Linked DNA regions of Homo sapiens: regions 1, 2, 4, 5, 6 and 7 are each linked to region 3. The links are contacts of gene promoters, found by promoter capture Hi-C in human tissues and cell types (Jung and others, 2019). All regions are on one chromosome and are shown on one strand. Each heading gives the region's core, a stretch centred on a gene start or on the middle of the fragment in contact. The rest is flanking DNA. Distances are from core to core; before and after follow the strand shown.

Region 1 (3,631 bases), core at 14-2,513, 390 kb before region 3:
ACCCTGGGGAAGTTTATCTTGGATTTTGGCCAGCAGCTCCAATCCCAGGGCTCAGGTGGGGCGGCAAGGACACACAGTGTCAGCGCCTGATGAAATCCCTGAGGTCACAGAATATGGTGGCTCCATCTTCCTTCCAGGGCTGTGTACTGCTTTTGGAGACATACAAAGTGTTTTCCAATATTCCCAAGGGAGCTTGTGGAAAATGAAGATTCCAGGCCTGTAATCCAAGCATTTTGGGAGGCAGAGGCAGGAGAATCACTTGAGCCCAGGAGTTCAAGACCAGTTTGGGCAACATAGCAAGACCCCATCTCTAACAAAAAAAAATTAGCCAGGGCCAGGCACGGTGGCTCACGCCTGTAATCCCAGCACTATGGGAGGCCAAGAAAGGTGGATCACCTGAGGTCAGGAGTTGGAGACCAGCCTGGCCAAAACGGTGAAACCCTGTCTCTACTAATAATACAAAAATTAGCTGGATGTGGTGGTGCGTGCCTGTGGCCCCAGCTACCCGGAAGGCTGAGGTGGAAGGACTGCTTGAGCCTGGGACTTCAAAGCTGCAGTGAGCTATGACTGCACCACTGCAGTCCAGCCACGGCAATTGAGTGATACCCTGTCTCAAAAACAAAACGAAAACTAAACAAAACACAGATTTCAGGGTCCAGTTCCCTATAGGATTCTGGTTCATTCCATCTGTGTTGGGGCTCAGGAATTTGTGGATCCAGGGCCATGAGTTAGGAAACTGAGAAATCTTGGAAATGATGAGACAGGCTTGGGCAAATGACCTTAGGTTTCACCTTTCTGAGACCCAGTTTCCACCTCTGTAAAATGTGGATAGTAATCTCGCCTTCTGGCCTTATGCGGAGGGTCCCACGAGAGGGAGCCTATAAAGTCTTCAAGAAAGCGGTGCAGCAGTTATGATCACTGACATTCTTCCCCAGCAAATGAGCCCCCGGAGCTGGCATGCAGGATTCGAACCAGCTCACCTAGCGCGGGATTCGAACTCGCGAAACTACTCGCGCCTTCCTGACGTCACGAAGTCACCCTGGAAAGCCGCTCTTCGCCCCGCCCCCGGCCCCGCCCGCGCCCGGAGCCCCGCCCCACTCTCCTGGGCGCAGCCTACCCCGCTGCCTGCCCCGCGCCCCGCCCCCGCTCCGGCCTCCCGCAGCCGGGGCTCGCGATTGGCCTTGCCGGGACGCCAGGGCCCGCCCCCCGAGTGTCGGCCCCGCCCCCGCAGAGGGGAGCGAGCGCTCGCGGGCCGGGGCGGAGGGTTCGGCTGCGCGGCGGGGCTGAGGCGGCCGCGGGGCCCGAGCGCAGGTAAGGGCGCCCGCGAACCGGGCCAGGGGAAGTGAGGGCGCGGCCGGCGTCCCGGAGAGGGGACTGGGACAGCTCGGATTCGGCTGCGGACCGAGTTGGGGGTCGGAGTCGGCTGAGGAGGGGGGCTGGGTCTGGGGACCCGGGCTGCAACTGGAGGCTGGGGTTGGAATTGGGGACGGGGCTGCGCTTAGGGGGTCGAAGTTAGCTGGGGAGGGGCTGGGGTTGGGGATTGGGACTGCACTTGGGGCTCAGGGCTAGCTGGGGAGGGGGCGGGAGTTGCAGGTCGAGGTTAGCTGGGGACGGGGCAGGGGGTGCAGATCGAGGTTAGCTGGGGAAGGATTGGGTCTGGGCATTGGGACTCCACTTAGAAATCAGGGCCAGCTGGGGAGGAGGCTGGAGTTGCAGGTCCAGGTTAGCTGGGGAGGGGGCTGGAGGTGGGATTGGAGGTCTGAGTTAGCTGAGGAGGGGGCTGGGGGTGAGACTGGAGGTCTGAGTTATCTGGGGAGGGGACTGGAGTTGCAGGTCGAGGTTAGCTGGGGAGGGAGCTTGGAGCGGGATTGGAGGTCTGAGTTGGCTGGGGAGGGGTCTGGAATTGCAGGTCCAGGTTAGCTAGGAAGGGGCTGGTGGTGGAATTGGAGGTCTTGAGTTTGCTGGGGAGGGGGCTAGAGTCGCAGGTCGAGGTTAGCTGCCGAGGGGGCTTGGAGTGGGATTGGAGGTCCAAGCTAGCTGGGGAGGGGGCTGGAATTGTAGGTCGAGGTTAGCTGGGGAGGGGGCTGGAAGTGGAATTGGAAATCTGAGTTAGCTGGGGAGGACGCTGGGGATGGTGTTGGGGGTTGAGGTTAATTGGAGCGGGGAACAGGGGTTGAGTCAAGGGTGCAGCTTCTTTGAAGAGGGAGCTGGGAGTGGGGTTGAGGTTTGCAGGGAGCTGGAGAGGGGGCTGGGGATGGAGTTTGAAGTGGGGTTCATTGGAGAGGGGGCTGCAGAGGGAATTAGATGTTGAGGTTGTCTGGGGAGAGGACTGAGGAATGGGGTTGGTGAAGATGGGGGGGTGTGATTGACGGCCCAGGGGTTAGGGTTAGCTGAAAAGGGGCAGAAGGACAAAGCTGGGGTGAGCCAGGGAGTGGCTGGAGCATACAGGTGGGGGTCAGGCTTGTTCCAGAAAGGGTCTGGGGGCTATCAGGGGAAATGGGGAGCTTGTGAGTGTGTGGGGTGGAAGGGGGTTCAGGGAGAAGGAAGTTGGGGTGAGTTAGTGAGAAGGGAGGTGGGGGTAAGGTCCCAGGCTGGAGACACCTGGGGGCAGGTGTTTTGCTAGACATTGACTAATCAGGAGGAAAACGGGGTGTGGGGAGGTGTCTCAGGTAGGATCCAGTTAAAAGGAATTTGGAGAGGACTCACCCCTCTACTTTTGGGGGAGATGTTAATTGTTTGCTCTAGAACTGGGCACGGGGCAGAACCCCCTGGGGAACAGTGAGTTGAAGGAGACGGGAGTTCGGAATACTTTTTGAGGTTTATTTCTAGGATATAGGGTGCCAAGGAGAACGCTTCAGGAAGGAGAAAGGCTCCTGTCGGTGACTGAATTTTTCAGGAACTAAAGTGGGAGTTTTTGGGACGGTGCTATTGAGCGACGTGGGTGGCACTTTATTTTTCCTGGGGAGCGGGGGTTGCTAGGGGTTGGGAGGTGGGCGGTGGAAGACAGGCTTGATGAACAGAGGCAGCGGATCCCCAGCTAAGCGTCTTCACACGGTTGCTAGGTGTCAGCGAGGCAAATGCCAAGTTCACAAACTTGTTCCCGTCGTGGGATGCTGCGATCTTGCCTTGATGGAGTGTCGGGGGCCTCTGGGAGGTGCGCCTGTGTGTGTTCCGACCCAGCCTCTCGCTGCGGATTTGGCTGTATCATCTTTTGGAGGTGTTGTTTACTCCCCTGCAAAGCGGGAATAATAAAAACAGTAGCATGTGCCTCTCAGGGTCGAATTACGGGATGTATGCATGGACTATTTCCTAGCATATAGTGAGGGTACCTGAAGCATGGAGAATAATGGACTCAATCCAGTTTTTTTCTTTGGTGGGTTTGGAGATGGAGGAGTGGGATGACTGGGTTGTCACAGAGGAGAGGAAAGGAAGTGACTGGAACTTGACTCTAGTCCTGCAACCTTAGGAGCACACATCAGGGTCACCCCCAGAAGCTTTAAAAAATAACCTGCATGGCTGGTTGTGGTGGCTCATGCCTGTAATCCCCGCGCTTTGGGAGGCCGAGGCGGGTGGATCACCTGAGGTCAGGAGTTTGAGACCAGCCTGGCCAATATAGCGAAAACCTGTCTCT
Region 2 (3,757 bases), core at 870-3,369, 320 kb after region 3:
AGGGAAAATGTTAAAAATGTATACCTCAAAGGACAATACCGGCAGAGTGGAAATGCCACCCACAGGCTGGGAGAGAAAAAAAATATTTTTTTATTTTTTCATTTTTTGAGATGGAGTAGCGCTCTGCCACCATGGCTGGAGTGCAGTGGCACGATCCTGGCTCACTGCAACCTCTGCCTCCCGGGTTCAAGTGATTCTCCTGCATCAGCCTCCTGAGTACCTGGGACTACAGGCACACGCCACCACGCCTGGCTAATTTTTGTATTTTTAGTAGAGACCCGGTTTCATCATGTTGGCCAGGATGGTCTCGATCTCCTGATCTCATGATCCGCCTGCCTCAGCCTCCCAAAGTGCTGGGATTACAGGCCTGAGCCACTGTGCCCAGCTGAAAAAAAAATGTGTTTAGAGACAGGATCTCACCATGCCCACACTGGTTTCCAACTCCTGGTCTCAGGCAATCCTCTCGCCTCTGCCTCCCAACGTGCTGGGATTACAGATGTGAGCCACTGCTCCAGGCTGGAGACATTTTTTTATTTTTTATTTTTTTTTTGAGAGGGAGTCTCACTCTGTCTCCCAGGCTGCAGTGCAGTGATACGATCTTGGCTCACTGCAACCTCCGCCTCCTGGGTTCAAGCGATTCTTGTGCCTCAGCCTCCCAGGTAGCTGGGATTACAGGTGTCTGCCACCACACCTGGCTAATTTTTGTATTTTTAGTAGAGGGGGATTTTGCCATGTCGGCCAGGCTAGTCTCTAACTCCTGGCCTCAAGTGATCTGCCCGCCTCGGCCTCTCAAAGTGCTGGGATTACAGGCGTGAACCACCAGGCCGGCCTGTGCTGCTTTTTTTTTTTTTTTTTTTTTTTTTTTTTTTTGAGACGGATTCTCGCTCTGTCTCCAGGCTGGAGTGCAGTGGCGAGATCTCAGCTCACTGCAACATCTGCCTCCCAGGTTCAAGCGATTCTCTTGCCTCAGCCTCCCAAGTAGCTGGGACTACAGGCGCCCACCACCACGCCCAGCTAATTTTTGTATTTTTAGTAGAGACGGGGTTTCACCATGTTGGCCAGGCTGGTCTGGCACTTCTTGACCTCAGGCGATCTGCCCGCCTCAGCCTCCCAAAGTGCTGGGGTTACAGGCGTGAACCACCAGGCCCAGCCTGTGCTTCTATTTTTGATCGGCCCAACTTCTGATCTGTATTCAGTGTCGTGTGGGCCCCTCGCTGGCAGGTGGTAATAGCGTCCATGATTATCCATGATCCTAATTAGCGTGTTGGGTTCTATGATCCACCCAGAAGTGGTTGAGGTTTTCGGTGGTGCCCGAGGTGGGGAACCAACAGTTCCTCATGGAAAAGGTGCCCAAGAAGGAGACACCCAGCTCCCAGTGCCCTCTCCTGGGGCATCCCGGGCAGAACAAGACAGGCCATATAGACGCTTCCGGGTGTGTGCTGTGTAGATGGGTTCAGCCTCTTGCTCGTTTTCATGGGTGACCACCTTGCCAAGTCGTGTCCCTATGTCAGAGGGCAACGGACAGGGGCTAATTCTGGAAGGTTCCTCGGGGAACCTGATGTGGGTGTTTGGGTCCTGCCAGCTCAAGGGCCGGTGGCCGAGTCTAACGGTCTGAGTGGTCCCCTGACGCTCTCCCCTGGGGGCGGGCATGGCGGTCCCACCTCACGGCCACCCGCGTTGCTTCTGCAGGTTTCTCTACTCGGACGAGGTGCAGATTGGCCCGGAGACGGTGATGACCACGCTATACACCGCCAAGAAGTACGCGGTGCCAGCGCTCGAGGCCCATTGCGTGGAGTTCCTGAAGAAGAACCTGCGAGCCGACAACGCCTTCATGCTGCTCACGCAGGTGGGCGGGGCCGGTACGAGGCGGGGGCGGGGCCAGGCCTGGCTGGAGGCGGGGCCGGGGTGGGGCGGACCGAGGCTGGAGGCGGAGGCGGGGCCGGGGGCGGGCCCGGGAGGCAGCAGGCTCCTGCCTGGTAGTAAAATGTGTTTTGGGCCGGGCGTGGTTGCTCACGCCTGTAATCCCGGCACTTTGGGAGGCCGAGGCGGGCAGATCACCTGAGCTCAGGCGTTCCAGACCAGCCTGGCCAACATGGCGAAATCCTATCTCTACTAAAAACACAAAAAAGAGCCGGGCGTGGTGGCGGGCACCTGTAATTCCAGCTACTTGGGAGGCTGAGGCAGGAGAATTGCATGAACCTGGGAGGTGGAGGTTGCAGTGAGCCGAGATCGCACCACTGCACTCCAGCGTGCATGACAGAGCGAGACTCCACCTGAAAAAAAAAGATGTGTTTTGGACTTTTCCGTGATACTTCAAAAAATTATTGGCAGGGTGCGGTGGCTCACGCCTGTAACCCCAGCACTTTGGGAGGCCAAGTAGGGAGGATTGCTTGAGGCCCGGAGTTCTAGACCAGCCTAGGCAACATAGAGAGACCCCGTTTCTACAAAAAATTAAAAAAAGATTCAGGCCGGGCACTGTGGTTCATGCCTGTAATCCCAGCATTTTGGGAGGCTGAGACAGGCAGATCACCAGAGGTCAGGAGTTTGAGACCAGCCTGGCCAACATGGTGAAACCTCATCTCTACTAAAAAAAAATATTTCATAAATTAGCCAAGCACGCTGGTGCATGTCTGGAATCTCAACTACTTGGGGGACCAAAGCAGGAAGATTGCCTGAGCCCGGGAGGTTGAGGCTGCAGTGAGTGGAGATGGCGCCACTGCACTCCAGCCTGAGTGACAGAGTGAGACCCTGTCTCTAAAAAAAAAGTAAAATAATTTTTTTTTGAGACGGGGTTTCTCTTGTTGCCCAGGCTGGAGTGCAATGGCACGATCTCAGCTCACTGCAACCTCCGCCTCCAGCGTTCAAGCGATTCTCCTGCCTCAGCCTCCACAGTAGCTGGGATTACAGGCCCCCACCACCGCGCCTGGCTAAAAAAAAAGAAAAAAAAAAACCAGAGAGAACTTTCTCTCTCTCTCTAAGGAAATGTCAGGTAGACAGAGCAGGGCCAGGGATCTCAGGGGACCCCAGTTGGGCTCTGTGCAGCCCAAAGGGCGGGGGCTGGGGAGGTCGTGCAGGCCAGGGAGGCTGAGAGGACGTGGGGCCAGTACGGGTGGACGGCCGCTTGGGAGCCGTGAGCTCCTGGTCGGGGGTGGAGGGTGGCCAGAGGGGACAGCGGCACTGGGTCCTCCAATGGGCTTTGGGGGTCCGGCATCCTGGAAAGGACCCAGAACCTTCTCCCCCTCCATCCTGGCAGGTCAGATGCAGGGCATCCCGGACTCCCACAGGGAGGGGTTTCTTGTCCGGGTCATCTGGTCGCCTTGCTGGAGAGGCCTCTGCCTGAGCTGAGAGGAGGCTGGAGCTCACTCCCCGGGCTTCATCTTGTGGCTGCCTCAGCCTCCCTGCCCCTAAAACCACTACGAACCCACTTGAGAGGTGTCCTCGGGAGGATGCCCGCAGAAAGGCCTGCCCGGGTCCCTGCTGGCATAGGCCCTTCCAGCACCTTCCACTAACTAAGCCTCTGTTTCCCTAAGAGCACAGGCGTCCTCCAGCTCTGTCACCTGACTGTCAGAAGTCATGTCTGCTGTTTGTCTTGGGATGGAGCTGCCGGGGACACGGCCCCTCCCACCACAAGTGGCCAAGGGCATGTTGTGGTCGGGAAGCTTCACCGGTCGGCCCCGGCCACCTCACCTCTGCCTGCCACTCGGGGTCCTGGGCCCTGCTGCCCCCCGAGTGCAGCTGCAACGCCCCTTTTGCCTAA
Region 3 (3,292 bases), core at 588-3,087:
GGAATTGAACCATACCCGCCCCCCACAGCATCCTGTGGGGGGCCTGGCCTGCAGCCTCCCAGGGATGCGGTTTCTGGGCCTCCAGCCAACGCGACAGTCTGGGAACAGAGCCTGCTTGAGTCACAGGTGGCTGCGTGAGTGCCAGGCCACCGCCAAAGCCACTGGGAATACACAGCTGGTGGGGAGGACTGCAGAGTGGGTGAAGGGGGCAGACAGGGCAAGGTTACACACACAGGTTCCCGAGGCCTCCTTCTCACCCCTCACTTGGGACAAATGGCATCTCCCAGCCTTGGTTTGCTCATCTGTGAGACAGGGAGGCTAAATGTGGCTTTTAGAAGATGCAGTGAGGGGCCGGGCATAGTAGCTCACGTCTGTCATCCCAGCACTTTGGGAGGCCGAGGCGGGTGGATCACCTGAGGTCAGGAGTTCGAGACCAGCCTGGCCAACATGGTGAAACTCTATCTCCCCTAAAAATACAAAAATTAGCCAGGCATGGTCATGGGCGCCTGTAATCCCAGCTACTTGGGAGACTGAGACAGGAGAATCGCCTGAACCCGGGAGGTGGAAGTTGCAGTGAGCCAAGATTGCACCACTGCACTCCAGAATGGGTGACGAGAGCAAAACTCCATTTCAAAAAAAAAAAAAAAAAAAAAAGACAAAAAAAAAGGTAAAAAACTTTCCATGAGCACTCGCAGTGCACTTGGTGTGTGCGCTGCTGTGTGCTAGGCGGAAGGCACATTGGGGAACAAGCCCATTAGACAAACTGAGAGGCTCCAAGCTGCTCGATGGAGGGACAGAGAGAAAGGCTGTCCAAGCTGGGCACAGCGAAGATCAAAGGCCTGGGACTGGAGGGACTTGGCCTGTTTGAGGAAGGCTGAGGGGGTGGAGCCCGGGAAAGAGTGAGTGAGGACAGGCCAGGGGGAAGGAGGTGGTGCGGCAGACCAAACAGTGCAGGCAGCCGGGCGGTGGCTCACACCTGTCATCCCAGCACTTTGGGAGGCCGAGGTGGGTGGATCACCCGAGGTCAGGGGTTTGAGACCAGCCTGGCCAACATGCTGAAAATCCGTCTCTAATAAAAATACAAAAATTAGCCGGGCGTGGTGGCGGGTGCCTGTAATCCCAGCTACTTGGGAGGCTGAGGCAGGAGAATCGCTTGAACCCAGGAGGCGGAGGTTGCAGTGAGCCAAGATGGCACCGCTGTACTCCAGCCTGGGCAACAGAGCAAGACTCCATCTCAAAAAAAAAAAGAAAGAAAGAAAGAAAGAAAGAACGAAAGAAAGAGAAATTCCAGGGTAGGTGGGGTGCAGACGGGACCCTCACGGCAATAGGGAATCACGGCAGGTTCTGGAGCCCAGTGGCTAAGCTTCCTCTGAGGGGCTTCCTCTGAGGGCCACATAAGGAATGGGCCTGGGCTGGGCTGTGGCAGATGTCCAGGTGCAGATGGTGGCGGCCTGGACTAGGGGTGGGGGACGGGGGGCAGAGGAGGCGATGGTAGCTTCCAGAAGGTTCCACACGGAACAACCTGCTGCACTTGGGGTGCCCCTGCGTTTATTGCACGGCACGGCCGTCTCCGCAGGCTCACCCAGGCCGTGGGGACAGGAGGTCCTCGGACACGAAGCGCCCGGGATGCGCACGGAGGGGTTCTGCACCCGCGCTCCCAGTGTCCCCGCACCTGCGCCCACGTGGCCTCTCACACCTGCGGCCCCAGCCGCCGCGCACGCGGCCCAGCGCAGCCCCCGCGCGCCCCCGCCAGGCGCGCCGAGGAGACCGGCGGGCGGTTGCGCGCGGCGGCGGCGCGCACGGCGGAGCCCGGGAGGCGGCGGCGGCGGCGGCGGCGGCGGCGGCGGCTGCTCGTGTCGGCTCCGGGCGGCCCCCGCGCCGCAGCCCGCGCCGTGTCCGCGGCGGAGCCGCCCAGGTGAGTGGCCGTGCCGGGGCCCGGCGTGGGGCGCGCCCGCAGACCTGGGGACCCCTCACCTGCACCCTGCGACCCTGCCGCCCAAAGCCCCCAACCCGCGACCCCATCCTCAGCCGGGGGAAATTGCCCCGCGCACCCCTCCCGGGCTCATCGCTCCTTGCCAGGCCCCCGACGCTCCCCCTGGAAACTTTGGGGGCGAACTCCCCACCCTGGGGCCCCCCGCCCCTCCTCTGGGGCGCCAAGGAGCGGGGAATCGGGTGGGCATCTCCCCGGGGCACTGGGGACGCTGGGAGGATGCGCTCCTCTCCAGGAGGAGATGAAGGGGGCACTGGTTGGGTCTGGGGTGTGGGGAACGTCCGAATAGAGCCTGCAGCCCGCGCCTTCCTGCCCTGTCTCCCCCGAGCCGGGTCTGGTCCAGCCTGGGGGTGCGGAGCTGGAAGACGCAAAGGGTATCTGGGGTCCACACCGGAGCCTGCTCCATCGCTGGAGCTGACGGCCCGGCCTGGCGGGGAGGGACCTGGGGGCATAGGGCTGAGTCCCCCTGCTCTGGGGGCGTCTGAATAGCACCAGAAATGGTGGGCCTGGGCACCCTGAGTGGGTGCCGCCACCTCCCGGGCCTCTGGGGCCTGGCCAGGGGAGGCCCTGAGTCCCATTCAACAAGTTTAGGGGAGCAGCACCTCGTGCCTTGGTCCGGGCACAAGAAAAGCCCCGGGTCCTTACGCTGGAGACCACCATGTAACTGGGTTTCTCAACGTGTGCTTGGGGCGCTAACGGTGCCGGTGTCCCGGCCCCCCCAGTTCTGAGGAGTCAGAACTTCTGAGGCGATGTGCCCCAGAAGCTGCATTTTAGCAAGCGGTCCCTGGCTAAACCATGGACGCAGCGAGGCTGCAGACACCCTTGCTCCGGCGGGGGTGGGGAGCGGGCGTCTGCTGTGCAGTGGTATTTGCAGAGGGACGATCTGGGGCTTGGCTGGGGGGAGCCTTCAGGGACAACAGAGCTGTGAGAACCAGAGCAACCCAGGAGGGCTCCCTGGAAGTGGCCTGGAGAGGATGCAGAAGGTGTGAGGTGTGAGTGGTCAGGTGGAGGACGCAGGCTGGAAACAGGTTCAGGGAGGGTGGTGCTGGCTTTATCAGGAGGCTGGTGTGGGGTGGGCTGCCGCGGCATGGCCTTACCCTGGCTGTTCTCTGAGCCGAAGCAGCAGCCATCGTCGGAGACAGGATCTGAGTGGGAAGAACCCACGGGCTTCCCCTGTAGACCCAGCTCCTGTCCCCATCTCGATGATGTGGGGTGGCAGGAAGGGGGCAGCCGGGCGGTGGGATGGGGGCTTAGGAGGGTTCAACTCAGCCTTCCCTGCCCTGCCTGTCTGGTCTTCACCGG
Region 4 (3,306 bases), core at 550-3,049, 370 kb after region 3:
CTCTATTTCTCCCTCTCTATCTCTCTCTGTCTCTGCATCTCTCCCTCTATCTCCAACTGTGTCTCGTCTCTTTCATCCTCTGTCTCCGTCTCTCTCTCCCTCTCTATATCCCTCTGTCTCTATCTCTACCTCTCTATCTCTCTGTCTCTCTCTCCCTCCCCACATCTCTCTCTGTCTCTACCTTTCCCTCTCTCTCTCCCTCTCCTTGTCTCTCCGTCTCTGTGCCTTGGCTTCATTCTTTCACTCCAAGCTTCTTCCGTCCGTGGTGGCAGCTGTGGCTTAGTTTAGCAACCCCCAAATAAAACAGAGCTCTTCTCTCCCAGGATCGCTATAAAATCCCAGGAAAGTCTCTTATTGTCTGGCATTGGCCCCTCCCAGATGACTGGCCAGGCCTGGTTTAGGCAATGTCCTGGTGACCAGAAGGGCAGGTTCCACGAGGGGCAGCGCCCTGAGAACACAGGAGTCGGGTGGGCCAGGTTCCCCACAGCAGGAGGAGTAGTTGCCGGGGAAGGGGAAGGACGCTGAGCAGATGACAACAGCTGCCTGCGACTTGGCGGCAGCGTTCAGAGCAGCTCCAGTGACAAAGGGCTTTCCCGCCTGGAGTGGCTCACTGCCCAGTCTTGGCCCTGCCAGCCTCAGTGGCCTCCCTGCAAGGGGACAGTCCTGGCCATCATCTCCGGGTCCAGCTCTGGACAGCAGGGATCAAGTGACTCATGCCCTGGGCTGAAAATGTACATGACCTTGCAATTTTCCTGAATTTGCTCCAGGAACAAGAGACAAAGCTAATTCCCAGGAAGAGGAGGAGGGATCTGCCCTGTAGTTGCCCTTGACCAGGTCCCTGGGCCTCAACCTTATCTATAAAAGGATAGAGTTGAAGACGGATTGAACTGCCAAATTGGTTTCCTCCTGGTGCTGCTCGATTGATTGGTGATGTCTGCTTTGTGCATGGGAGGGAAGCAGTGTGGGCATCATTGGTTGATTGGTGATGTCTGCCCTGTGCACAAGAGGAAGGAAGGCAGGACAAACAGCAGCGTTCCCCAGTCAACCAACATCATTGCTTGATTGGTGATGCCTACCCTGTACACAGGAGGAAGGAGGTCAGGAGAAACATCATTCGATGATTAATTGGTGATGTCTGCCCATGTTGCCATGTTGGCCAGGTTGGTCTCCAACTCATGACCTCAGGTGATCCACCTGCCTCAGCCTCCCAAAGTGCTGGGTTTACAGGCATGAGCCACTGCGCCTGGCCCGATTCTACAACTTTTTTCTATTTCCTCATTTTAGATCATTCCAGAACTTTCTGGGAATTACACCCAACAGTCTCTAGTAGGGCATAAACACAGACTTGGGGGAAAAGAAGACCTGTCTTTGCAGCCAGTGGCGACACCCCTTCCCAGCTGGGAGGCTGGGCCTGCCCAGCACTGCATTCCCATATGCAGCGCAGCCAACGGAACAGGGCGACGTCAGGAAGTTTTGGTGGGTGAGGAAGCAGCACAGAGCAGGGTCTGCCCTCACCCCCACCAACCGCAGGGACAGAGCCTGGCGGCAGTGGGTGGCCCCAGAGCCAAGTGTGGGGCACTGGGATCTGCCTCTTCACAGGGGCACGGGATCCAGTCAGAGGATGGGTGACTCTGAGAGAAGTTTCTCTCCTTTGTCTACTTTCTCTGCTGTCCCAGAGAATGAAGGCTCATCCTGCAGCGTCCTTTGAGGGTACATGGCTGTGTGTTTGTGTGTCTGTGTGGGATGCTGTGTGTTGATGTTTGTGTGTGTCTGTGTGTATGTCCATGGATGGGTGTATGTTTGTGTGTTTTGTGTGTCTGTCTATGATGTAACATGTTGGTGTGTGTGGATACATGTCCATGCATTTGTATTTTGGGTTTTTTTTTTTTTTTGAGACGGAGTCTCGCTCTGTCGCCCAGGCTGGAGTGCAGTGGCGCAAGCTCCACCTCCCGGGTTCCCACCATTTTCCTGCCTCAGCCTCCCGAGTACCTGGGACTACCGGCGCCCACCACCACGCCCAGCTAATTTTTGGTATTTTTAGTAGAAACGGGGTTTCACCGTGTTAGCCAGGATGGTCTAGATCTCCTGACCTTGTGATCCACCCACCTCGGCCTTGCAAAGTGCTGGGATTACAAGCGCGAGCCACTGCGCCCGGTCATATTTTGTGTTTCGTGTTTTGTTTTTCTGAGACAGGGTCTCCCTCTGTCACCCAGGCTGGAGTGCAGAGATTCAATCATAGCTCACTGCAGCCCTCACTTCCCAGGCTCAAGTGATCCCCCTGCCTCGGCCTCCCAAAGTGTTGGGATTACAGGCATGAGCCACCGCAACCGGCCTGCATTTTGTATATGTGTTTGTTGTTTTCCAGTGTGTATGTCCATGTACATGTGTGCACGGGTGTGTGTGTGTTAGGTGTGTCTGTGTGAGGTGGCATGTTGGTATGTGTGGTCCATGTGTTCATGCATTTGTGTCATATGTATCTGCGTACATGTGTGCATATGTATGTGTGTGCACATGTCTGTCTCTGGGTCTTTGTGTGCGTGGGTGTGTGTGCGCACCTGTGCATCTGGGTGTGTGTGTGTGTGTTCGTCGGTGGGTCTATGGGGGGGTGTGCATTTGTGTGCCTGTGTTTGGCATGCCTGTGTGTGGTGTGTGTTGGTTTGTGTATTGTGTGTGTGAGCATGTGAGTGCCTGCATGGGGGGTATTCAGGAACGCTGCTGTGAATGGCATCGCTCAGCGTCAGGGAACCGTCTTGCTCCAGGTTTTGGGCTGTTTCATGGAGGCTGGGGGATGTTCTTGTTGATGATGCAGCCCACTTGGACTTAACTTATTTTTGGTCATATTGCACCTAAATGGTCCTCCTGGCATTCACTCTGTTCATTTGCCCCTGGTGCCTGGGGACTCCTCCCATGGTGGTGACCAGGGTCTCTCCCACATCTCTTGTCACCAAGGCCAGCCACAGAGGGCAGCCTGCAGTGGACAGGGTGCAGGACAGGGCAACAATGACCATGATGCTTCATGGAAGATGTGAGCTCCCCCCAGGGAGCCTCCCATCCAGAGCCCCCACCCCTCAGCTCGATGGAATGCCCAGCCCCTTGGTGCTGCAACCCCAGTAGGAGGGTGGCATCCTGGACCCAGGCAACAGGGATGCTGCATGCCACAAACACTGAGACACAAAGAAGAAGTGGTTCAAAAGCTGGGTGTGATGGTCACAGATTCTTTGCTGCTCCTCCCACGGAAAGACACAGTTCATTTCCCCTCCCCTGAATGTAGCTGCTCCTGTGACCTGTTTTAGCAACAGAAGGCAG
Region 5 (3,318 bases), core at 28-2,527, 400 kb after region 3:
GGTTTCACCGTGTTAGCCAGGATGGTCTTGATCTCCTGATCTCGTGATCCACCCGCCTTGGCCTCCCAAAGTGCTAGGATTACAGGCGTGAGCCACCACGGCCGGCGCTACACGTATGTATTTTATTTATTTATTTAGAGACAGGGTCTCGCTCTGTTGCCCAGGCTGGAATGCAGTAGTGCCATCACAGTTCACTGCAGCCTCAACCTCCGGGGCTCAAGCAATCCTCCTGCCTCAGCCTCCCAAGTAGCTGGGACCACAGACATGTGTCACCATGCCTGGCTTATTAAAAAAAAATCTTTTTTTCTTTTTTTTGGAGAGTGAGTCTTGCTAGCTTGCTCAGCCTGGAGTACAATGGTGCCATCTTGGCTCACTGCAACCTCCACCTCCCAAGTCCAAGCGATTCTCCTGCCTTGGCCTCCCCAGTAGCTGGTTTTACAGGCGCGTGACACCACGCCCAGCTAATTTTTGTATTTTTGGCAGAGATGGAGTTTCACCATGTTAGACAGGCTGGTCTCGAACTCCGGACCTCAGGTGATCCACTCGCCTTGGCCTCCCAAAGTGCTGGGGTTATAGGGTGAGGAACTGCACCCAGCCGTCCTTGTTTCCACGGAGTCGATCCTCTGTTTCTGGCCACCCTACAAGGAGGCCTTCTCTGCAAGACAGCGGGGAACCTCGGTCCTCGGGGTAGTGTGTGGGAGATAACTGGGGGCCTGTGATACAAAAACCTGAAAAACTCATACTCTAGGTAACGATGAGGAACGATGGTCAATTCTGGGGATGTACCAAGGCCTAGGGGAATCTCCACATAAAGGCGAATCAGAGCTGGGGAGGAAGGACGCGAAGGCTACGGAAACTCGCGAGAGCGCGGTTCAGAGGCAGGGGACTGCGGGACATGACCTGAGGAAGGGCCACCGGAAGCAGCTGGAGGATACGGGGTCTCCCGCACCGACCATAAGGGCGCACACGCGCAGAAAGGCGCTAGGCCCGGGGGAGCGCGGTCCTGAGGCTTCCCCCAGGCCAGCGCCGCGCGCGCGCGCGCACGCGCATTCGCGCCGCCTCCCCGCGTCGCCCACCGGCCCGCCCGAGACGCGCGCGAGGCTGGCCTGGGCCCCCCGTTTTCTCCCCACAAACGGCCGGCGCCCCTCACCGCCGAGACCCCCCATGTCAGCCCCTACTCCCCCTCTGGGGAAGTCTGAGCCTGGAGAACCCGAGACCTCGGGGCCGCGCGCTTACCTGAGGGATCCGGGCGCGAGCGCAGCGCTTCGCCAAGTCTTAGCAACCGGCCCGGCCCAACCCACCTCACCCCGCCTCGTCTCCGCCTGGAGCCGCGGAGCACGACGGGAGCGTAGTTCCAGGGGCGGGATCTTCGCCAGGCCAAGGTGGGGCAAGGACTACAATTGCTAGTAGGCACTGCGCGCCGCCGCCTCGCCCCGCCCCGCTCCGGCACTGCGCTCACATGACCTCCGGGCGGCGGGAGGGGAGGAGAGGCGGGGCCGCTGCGCTGGGCGAGCGCTGAGTTTGCAGGTTCGAATCCCATCAAGCGGCCAGGGAAAACTCGGAACCCGGGGGATCTTTGGAAGGTTAGCAGAGTGGGAAGGATGAGGCAGAGGGGGTATATGACACCCGTCCCCTGAGTCCGGGATGGGGCCAGGTTCCAGTTCTGCCTGTTACTGCACTCCGGCGTGGGCCGCCCTCAGGTTTGAGTTTTCTCACCAGTAACGTAGGTGAAGAAGACCTCTTGCCTCTCCTGGGCCAAACAAGCACATTTTTTTTTTTTTTTTTGAGACGTAGCCTCAGTCTGTCACCCAGGCTGGAGTGCAGTGCTAGGCTCACTGCAACCTCCACCTCCTGGGTTCAAGCGATTTCTGGCTAGTTTTTGTACTTTTAGTAGAGAAGGGGTTTCACCAAAACATGCATATTTTATGAGCAATTTGTTACTCCTTCCAGTTGGACAGGTTTAACCAAGTGGTTCTCAACGGGAGGGAATTTGTCATCCCCTCCCCCAACAGCTTGACAGTGCCTGGCTGTAACCAGCTCAGGCTCCGATGCCAGAGTCTTGACAAACCAGTAAGGAGGAAAAAGTGCAGTGAAAGGAAGGTGACTTCCTTTCAGAGTTCGCAGCAGGGAGGCAGCTGGTTTAGGCCTCCAGAAACCCCTTCAAACTTGAGGCTGGGGTGAGGGGCTAAAAAAGGGGAACTGGGAATGGTGGGTGTGCAGGGGAGGTGCTGATTATAAGCTCTGTGTGTTCATGAATTTTGGTGGCTTAAAAGCGCAGGCTGGCCTCATCCTAATAAGGGCCGGGTTGCAGACCACCTTGAGGAAATCTCTGGGATTTTGCAGGTGGGTCTCCGTGCTTGGCCTGTCTCCAGATTAGCTCTAAAACGTTCTTTCTTTTTTCTTTTTTTTCGAGACAGTCTCGCTCTTGTCACCGAGGCTGGAGTGCAGCAGCACGATCTCAGCTCACCGCAACCTCCACCTCCCAGATTCAAGTGATTCTCCTGCCTCAGCCTCCCGAGTAGCTGGGATTACAGGCACACGCCACCACACCTGGCTAATTTTGTATTTTTAATAGAGATGGGGTTTCTCCATGTTGGTCAGGCTGGTCTCAAACTCCTGACTTCAGGTGATCTGCCCGCCTCGGCCTCCCAAAGTGCTGAGATTACAGGCGTGAGCCACCGTGCCCAGCCTGTTCCTGGAACTTTTAGGTAATCACATAATTAGATGCATACAGTTAGGTAAACCTGCAGAGTGTGAGGGAGTTTATGGTGAGAAAGGGGAGGACGTGTTTCAAAGAAAGTGCATTTCAAGGTCGGATGCGGTGGCTCATGCCTGTACTCCCAGCACTTTGAGAGGCCAAGGTGGGTGGATCACCTGAGGTCAGGGGTTCGAGACCAGCCTGGCCAACATGGCGAAACCCCATCTCCACTAAAAATACAAAAATTAGCCAGGCATGGTGGCAGGGGCCTTTAATCCCAGCTGCTGGGAAGGCTGAGGCAGGAGAATCACTTGAACCCGGGAGACGAAGGTTGCGATGAGCTGAGATCGCACCATTGCACTCTGTTGCCTGGGCGACAGAGTGAGACTCCATCTCAAAAAAAAAAAAAAAAAAAAAAAAAAAAAAAAACAGCATTCCAGGAAACTATTTCGCTCTCAGTTGCTTTCTTTTTTCCTTTTCTGAATAAAAACTCAGACTGCTGTGAGTTTCACTTTTTCTTTTTTTAGCTTAAATACACATCTCTCCATCCCTGGATGCCTCATGCAAACTAGCCAAGAGCCCCTGTTTTGCTGATTTGTTTTAAAAAAAAAAAAGACAGC
Region 6 (3,413 bases), core at 298-2,797, 360 kb before region 3:
AGATAGATGGTAAGAAAAGAAACAGCCGTTTTCTGCATTTCAAAGAAACAAAACCTTGGGGCTGTGAAAATTTTTGTTGTTTGTTTGTTTGTTTTTTGAGAGGGAGTCTCACTCTGTGGCCCAGGCTGGGTTGCAGTGGCGTGATCTCTGCTCACTGCAACCTCCGCCTCCCGGGTTCAAGCGATTCTGCCGCCTCAGCCTCCCAAGTATCCGGGATTACAGGCGCAGCACCTTGCCCGGCTGATTTTTGTATTTTTAATAGAGACGGGTTGGGTTTCACCATGTTAGCCAGGCTGGTCTCGAACTCCTGACCTCAAGTGATCCACCCGCCTCAGCCTCCCAAAGTGCTGGGATTACAGGCGTGAGCCACCGCGCCCGGATGAGTGTGTGTTTTGTGTGAAGGGATGCTCTGTGCTAACTCTGCCGTGTGATGTTGAGGATCGGAGGTGAATCTTTTTTGACAGGACCCTCATCTAATTTCAGGATGGAAGACTGGAACACTGCCTAGATGAGAGTATTTAGTTGCTGAAATGGTGCTATTTTGTCTTAGACTGTTTTGCGAGGGTCTCAACCAATGGCCTTGGGGGCAAATCCAGGCCACCTGTTACTATAAATAAAGTTTTATTGGCACACGATGGGCCATGCCCATTTATTTATGCATAGTCTATGGCTGCTTTCAAAATACAACAGCAGAACTGTGTAGCTGCAACAGAGAACATATGTTCCGTAAGGCTGAAAATTTTTACATCCTGCCCTAGACAGAAACACTTTGCTGTGCTCTGGTCTAGTCCAGAAAGGAGGTAATCTGGCCAGGCAAGGTGGCTCACACTTGTAATCCCAGCACTTGGGGAGGCTGAGCAGGGAGGATCGCTTGAGCCCAGGAGTTCAAGGCCAGTCTGGGCAACATAGCAAGATCCTATCTCTATGAAAAGTAAAAACTAAAAAAGCAGGCATGGTGGCTCACACCTATGTAATCCCAGGACGTTGGGAGGCTGAGGTGGGCAGATCACCTGAGGTCAAGAGTTTAAGACCAGCCTGGCCGACATGGCGAAACCCCATCTCTACTAAAAATACAGAAATTAGCCGGGCATGTTGGCAGGTGCCTGTAATCCCAGCTACTCGGGAGGCTGAGGCAGGAGAATCCCTTGAACCCGGGAGGCTGAGTTTGCAGTGAGCTGAGATCGTGCCACTGCACTCCAGCCTGGGCGACAAGAGCAAGACTCTGTCTCAAAATAAAAATGAATAAATAAATACAATAAAAATTAAAACATAAGCCGGGCACGGTGGCACTTTGGGAGGCTGAAGCAGGCAGATCACCTGAGGTCAGGAGTTCGAGACCAGCCTGACCAACATGGTGAAACCCTGTCTCTACTAAAAATACAAAAATTAGCTGGGCGTGGTGGCGGGCGCCTCTAATACTGGCTATATGGGGGACTGAGGCAGGAGAATCACTTGAACCCGGGAGGCAGAGGCAGTGAGCCAAGTTCGCACCACTGCACTCTAGCCTGGATGACAGAGCAAGACTCCATCTCAAAAAATAAGTAAAATAAATTGAAAAAGAATAATAAAAGGAGGTAATCCAGGTTCTAAATAATAAAGCCAGTATGTGCCATGACCCATGGCTCAGACACCACTTTAAACATTTTATAGATACTCATTTATGTAATCTCCAAAACCAGTCTCACAGGGTGGATGCTGCTTCGATGTGCATTCTACAGAGTGGGAAACTGAGGCACAGCGACAGTGGCAAGGGACTGAAGGTCACCCAGCCAGACAGCGAGTCGTGAAGTCAGAATGGAGTAGCTCTTGTCCAGCACTCCACCTTGGCCATACCAGAGCGTACGTCCCCACCCAATCCTTCCTCGGGACTCAGTGGAGCTATTTTCACATTGAGGGGAAATAGAAATCCGTTCGTTCTCATTTTCTTTCTTTTTTTTGTCCCGCATGGCCCTCTTCCCAAATCCTTGTTGCCCGTCTCACCAGACATTCCAGTTCCAAGAGGTGGGGTGTGGCGAGGACTGTCCAGCACGGCAGGGTGATCCTGCCCCCCCCCCCCCAGGGGACACTGGGCCATGTCTGGGGACATTTGTGGCTGTCACCATTGAGAAGTGCTCCGGGCATGCAGTGGCTGGAGGTCACGGATGCCGCTCAGCGTGCTGCAGTGCTCAGGACGGCTCCATCCCAGAGAATGGTACAGCCCCAGTGTCCACCGTGCCTGGGAGGAGAGACTCAGCATTCATTATTTGGAGAAGAAATGGAGTCTGCTTCCTGCTCACCAGGACACACTCCTGATGGGGCAGACGGTGTAAACCAGGGGACCCCAGCTCGTGGGATTCACCTCCTCTCTCCCTCCCCCCAACTAAAGGTGTGGATTTCAATGTGTGCAGCCTCCTGGGACCTCAGCAGGACAGAAGATCAGGGGACAGAGTATCTTGGGGGTCCGTGGAATTTCCTAATTCAGGGGGTGTCAACTGAGGGTGATTCTGCCCCAGGGGACACTGGGTGTTGTCTGAGGACATTTGTCGTTGTCACAACTTGAGGATGGTCGTGGCGTGGAGTGGGTGGAGGCCAGGGACACTGCTCAGCACCCTGCAGTGTCCGGGACAGCTGCACCCTAGAGAATGACCCAGCTCTGAATGTCCACGGTTTCCAGGGGAGAGACCTTGCATTAACTGGCAAAAAAATGAGTTTGCTCCCTGCTCACAGTAGACACCAGAATAGATTCCCGATGGGGCAGACGGTGTCAGCCGGGGCCATCCTCCCAGAGTGACCTAGAGGACTGGGTGAGGAGGGTCTCTAGAGCACTGAGGGTGCAGGACACAGAGCCAACCGTCTGATTGTTCCTTCCCCCTCCTTGACCTCGGCTCACAGAGACCTTGAACCCTCAGGGTCAAGCAGGCCTGCCCCTTTGTTCTGTGTGCCCCAGGGTGCAGTGGAGCCTGTTCCAGGTCACGCCCGGCCTGGCCGTCATCAGTCTCGTGGCTCTGAAGCAGCCACGTCACTCCCCCAGTCCCGGCACCTCCCCTGCGCCTGCACCTGGGTGAGAGCCCGTCCAGGCCTCTCTGCCCCCTTCCTTTGCAATCAGCACTTTGCTGGTGACATATTTAGATGGTTGCTGTGGTGATGAGTGAAGGCTGAGGTTGACAACTTCAGCGATGGCACAAAGGACAGGGCTGTGTTTCTATATCCAGCCTCCAACGAGACAAGACGCCCCTGCCACGTGCTGGCAGAATGTCAGCGTGGGAAGGGAAGGGGGCTCTGACAGCCCGTCCTGCCCACTCAGTTCCCAGAGGAGGAAGTGCAGCCGGGCCTGGGGGGCGGTGGAGGATAGGCCTGTCATCAAATGTCAGGTCCCTGGCTGTCCTGCCCTTGAGGGACATGCCTTAGAGCATTGGGTCTCAACTGGGGGCAAG
Region 7 (3,792 bases), core at 851-3,350, 340 kb before region 3:
GTGCAGTGGCATGATCTCAGCTCACTGCAACCTCCGCCTCCCGGGTTCAAACGATTCTCCTGCCTCAGCCTCCCAAGTAGCTGGGATTACGGGCGCCCACCACCACACCTGGCTAATTTTTGTATTTTTAGTAGAGACAGGATTTCAACATGTTGACCCGGCTGGTCTCGAACTCGTGACCTCAGGTGATCCTCCCACCTCGGCCCCCCAAAGTGATGGGATTACAGGTGTGAGCCACCGTGCCTGGCCCCATGTGGCATTTATTTTTATTTTTTCTCAGACAGGATTGCACTCTGTTGCCTAGGCTGGAGTGCAGTGGTGCAATCCTAGCTCACAGCAACCTTGATCTCCCAGGATCAAGCGATCCTCCCATCTCAGCCTCTCGAGTAGCTGGGGTCACAGGCGGGCACCACTACACCCTCCTAATTTTTAAATTTTTTTTGTCAAGATGGGGTCATTTTGTAGAGATGGGGCGACTCGCTGGGAGGACCCTGGACTCCGCATGAGGCCTCCTTGTGACTGTGGTTTGTCCCAGCAAGAGGACATGGAGCACAGAGCAGAGTTTGGGAAGGGAAAGGCTCGTGGGGTGGGTCGGGGAGGCCAGGCCCGGCTTCTAGGCCCAGCTTCCAGGCCCTCTCCCCATGTGTCACGCGGGACACGCCACATCCCCAGCAGCGAGCTGGGACAACAGCCCAAAGCACTGTCACCAGCGAGGCTCCCAGAGACCCAGCACCCACGTTCCTATGGGGGCTGGTTCTGCTGCCCCTGCTGCCTGACCCATGCCAGGATTCCAGGCTCCAGAGGGAGGCAAGGATTTCATATAAACCACGGTGTTTGCAGGAACAGCTTTGGCCCTGGAGCTTGTCCTGTCAGTGATGGTGGCAGGGTCCCCCCGAGTCCCCCGAGGTGGGGAGTTCCTGGTCGCAGCCTCAGGCATGTGGTGCCAGCCTGGTTCTGCTCAGAGACTGCCCGTACCAGCTGAGCTGGGGCTGAGGGACTTCCCAGGATGCAGGACTTTCAGGCTAACTCTGGAAAAGTCCTGGGCAGACCTGGATACGTTGGGTGCCTTCTGGGCACCGTGGGACTAACTCAGCCCCTTCTTCTTCCTCCCAGGGAGATCGTGAGGCTCCAAAGATGTACAGAGATGTTTTTGATAAACTGTGAAGAGCCGTAGAAACATCAATCCTTGCACTCAGTTCAGTTTTCAAACACGTGGAAAATGTATTAGGAATAACGTCATAAATCTCTAATAATAAATATTTTCAGTGAATTGTCTTCTGCTTTTTTCCTTTTCTATTATTTTTTTTTTTGAAGCAGAGTCTTGCCCTGTTGCCCAGGCTGGAGGACAGTGGCTCGATCTCAGCTCACTGCACCCTCTGCCTCCCGGGTTCAAGGGATTCTCCTGCCTCAGCCTCCTAAGTAGCTGGGACTACAGGCACCCACCACCACGTTGGCTAATTTTTATATTTTTAGTAGAGACGGGATTTTGCCATGTTGGCCAGGCTGGTCTCGAACTTCTGACCTCATGATCCACCTGCCTTGGCCTCCCAAAGTGCTGGGATTACAGGCCTAAGCCACCGCGCCTGGTTGCCAAAATGATTTCTGTCCTTGTCCAATCACAAGCGCGAGGCCGTTCTCCAATGCTGACCCCATCAACACATGCATGGTGCCTCCAGCCAAGCCACGCCAAACTAACTCTATGTGTTTTTTCCAGGGAGTGGAGCTTGGTTTCGGGATCTCGGTGCTGCAGACGGCGAGACCTCCTGCACAGGTCGGTGCTGTAATGCATTTCTTTGTTATGATTTGAGGTTCAGTTGGCTGTTTTGCACCCTGGATGTAAGACGTGGGGTTGCCGTCAAGGCGGGCGTCTTGGCCTTGACCTGGGTCTGTCGGCTGTTTGTATCCACCAAGTATGGGTAATGGGGAGCAGGTGTGGGTAACAGCTGCTAGCTCCTGGCAGAGTTTCCCGCCCACGAGGCAGGGAACGTGGCACTCACTGGTCCTGCTGGTGCCGGAGCCCCTGGATGGGGTCAGGGTGGGAAGCCCACAGCGGTGCTGCATGCCTTTCCGGTGTCTTCGTGCCATGGTAGGGAGTTTTAAGGAGCCTTCACCCGTATCTCCTGTGCACCTGGAGAGTGACCCGTCGCTGGCCCTTTAGCTCTCCTCTGTTGATTTACTCCTCGTTTTTCTCCCTAGAGAATCATGAGTGGCTTTTAAAATGTAGGAAGAGGAAACCATTTAAAAATAAGTAGAAAGGAAGGCAGAAATGTCCAGAAAAGGCAAAGCCATAGGGACAGAAAGGGACTCGTGGTGATTGGAGGCTGGGGACATGAATGTGCACCAGAGACTTGCCAGGGACGTGGAAATGGACCCGATGGTCGGGTCGGGGTGACCGCAACCTGGTGAACTTACTTAAAAATCTTAAAACAAAATTTTTTTTTAAGAGTTAGGGTTTTGGCCAGGCATGGTGGCTCATGCCTGTAATCCCAGCACTTTGGGAGGCCGAGATGGGTGGATCACCTGAGGTCAGGAGTTCCAGACCAGCCTGACCAACATGGTGAAACCCCATCTCTACTAAAAATAGGAAAATCAGCCAGGCGTGGTGGCAGGTGCCTAGAGTCCAAGCTACTCGGGAGGCTGAGGTGCGAGAATCACTTGAGCCTGGGAGATGGTGGTTGCAGTGAGCCAAGATCATGCCACTGCGCTCCAGCCTGGGTGACAGAGCGAAACTCCTTCTAAAAAAAAAAAAAAGAGAGAGAGAGAGAGAAAAGAAAGAAAGAAAGAAAAACAGAAAAGAGTTAGGGTTTGCTTTGTTGCCCAGGCTGGTCTTGAACTCCGTGGCTCAAGTGATCTTCCTGCTTTGACTTCCCAAAGTGCCAGGATTACAGGTGCGTACCATTGCACCCGGCCCTGAAGTATCTTTGAGCAGTACACTTCACTTGAATTTTATGGCATGTAATGTGTACCTTAAAAATGCATATTTTAGCTAAGCCCAGTATAAATCATTTTGGTCTCATCCTTAGTAGTCAATGGTCATGAGAGGTAATTCAGAAACAGATGTACTCAAAAGTCAAGAATATGTTCAAATTTAGCAATAAGGCAAAGACTCCAAATGTCCATCAATGGGTGAATGGATCAGCAGAACATCCTCCATCCACACCATGGAGTGTTACTCAGCCATGAAAAGGAATGAAGCTTTGACACAGGCCACAGTGTGGATGTACCTTGAGGACGTCACGCTCAGTAAGAGATGCCAGACACAAAAGGCCACACAGCATGTGATCCCCTTTCTACAAAAGGTTCAGGACGGGCCGATCCACAGAGGCAGGGAGGGGATGCGTGGGTGCCGAGACTGGGAGGGGCATGGGAAGTGATGGTTGATGGGTTTCTTCTTCTTGGCATAATTAGAATGTTCTGGAATTAGTGGTGATGGTTGCAGGACTCTGAATGTACTAAATGCCATTGAATTGTGCGTTTTCTTTTTATTTTATGATTTTTTTCTTCTTTTTGGTGCCGCAGATAATACTCAGAAAGAATTATGCATTTTAAATGGGTGCACTGTATGTCATATGAATTACATCTCAATAACATGATGCATGTATAGATAGAGCATTATATATATATATATATATATATATATATATATATATATATATATATATATATAAAGTGTAGGCCGGGTGCAGTGGCTCACACCTGTAATCCCAGCACTTTGGGAGGCCAAGGCAGGTGGATCACCTGAGGTCAGGAGTTTGAGACTAGCCTGGCCAACATGGCGAAACCCCGTTTCTA

The links. Contacts are between HindIII fragments. The study calls those that stand out against the background at their distance.
Region 1: the fragment with the promoter of GNG7 here is called in contact with the fragment with the promoter of LINGO3 in region 3 in 4 of the 25 tissues and cell types used here (IMR-90 fibroblasts, mesenchymal stem cells, spleen and 1 more).
Region 2: a contact is called between a fragment that was not itself captured here and the fragment with the promoter of LINGO3 in region 3, in 2 of the 25 tissues and cell types used here (adrenal gland and spleen).
Region 4: a fragment that was not itself captured here is called in contact with the fragment with the promoter of LINGO3 in region 3 in 2 of the 25 tissues and cell types used here (pancreas and spleen).
Region 5: a contact is called between the fragment with the promoter of ADAT3 here and the fragment with the promoter of LINGO3 in region 3, in 8 of the 25 tissues and cell types used here (IMR-90 fibroblasts, adrenal gland, bladder and 5 more).
Region 6: a contact is called between a fragment that was not itself captured here and the fragment with the promoter of LINGO3 in region 3, in 2 of the 25 tissues and cell types used here (spleen and stomach).
Region 7: a contact is called between a fragment that was not itself captured here and the fragment with the promoter of LINGO3 in region 3, in 5 of the 25 tissues and cell types used here (dorsolateral prefrontal cortex, pancreas, spleen and 2 more).

Annotation. Positions count from the first base shown.
Region 1 is chr19:2,700,326-2,703,956 of GRCh38, reverse strand. GNG7 (G protein subunit gamma 7) reads left to right here and starts at 1,263. Exons shown (of 5, transcript NM_052847.3): 1 at 1,263-1,311. RefSeq lists a silencer at 978-1,367. The HindIII fragment of the contact is 6,266 bases long and covers 1-3,631 here.
Region 2 is chr19:1,991,109-1,994,865 of GRCh38, reverse strand. It overlaps BTBD2 (BTB domain containing 2), which reads left to right. Exons shown (of 9, transcript NM_017797.4): 3 at 1,690-1,846. Among named protein-coding and RNA genes, the nearest start is that of BTBD2, 23 kb to the left of the region's middle. RefSeq lists an enhancer at 1,054-1,554. The HindIII fragment of the contact is 3,931 bases long and covers 154-3,757 here.
Region 3 is chr19:2,306,699-2,309,990 of GRCh38, reverse strand. It overlaps LINGO3 (leucine rich repeat and Ig domain containing 3), which reads left to right and starts at 1,837. Exons shown (of 2, transcript NM_001101391.3): 1 at 1,837-1,915. The HindIII fragment of the contact is 18,961 bases long and covers 1-3,292 here.
Region 4 is chr19:1,933,372-1,936,677 of GRCh38, reverse strand. No RefSeq gene overlaps it. Among named protein-coding and RNA genes, the nearest start is that of CSNK1G2, 6.1 kb to the left of the region's middle. The HindIII fragment of the contact is 4,225 bases long and covers 1-3,306 here.
Region 5 is chr19:1,903,358-1,906,675 of GRCh38, reverse strand. ADAT3 (adenosine deaminase tRNA specific 3) reads right to left here and starts at 1,277. Exons shown (of 2, transcript NM_138422.4): 1 at 1,237-1,277. It overlaps SCAMP4 (secretory carrier membrane protein 4), which reads right to left and starts at 1,277. Exons shown (of 7, transcript NM_079834.4): 1 at 1,237-1,277. RefSeq lists enhancers at 774-863, 1,884-1,943, 2,224-2,283 and silencers at 1,024-1,173, 1,224-1,553. The HindIII fragment of the contact is 31,876 bases long and covers 1-3,318 here.
Region 6 is chr19:2,664,006-2,667,418 of GRCh38, reverse strand. All of the region lies in intron 1 of GNG7 (G protein subunit gamma 7), which reads left to right. Among named protein-coding and RNA genes, the nearest start is that of MIR7850, 35 kb to the right of the region's middle. The HindIII fragment of the contact is 9,228 bases long and covers 1-3,413 here.
Region 7 is chr19:2,644,203-2,647,994 of GRCh38, reverse strand. It overlaps GNG7 (G protein subunit gamma 7), which reads left to right. Exons shown (of 5, transcript NM_052847.3): 2 at 1,715-1,771. Among named protein-coding and RNA genes, the nearest start is that of MIR7850, 15 kb to the right of the region's middle. The HindIII fragment of the contact is 9,525 bases long and covers 1-3,792 here.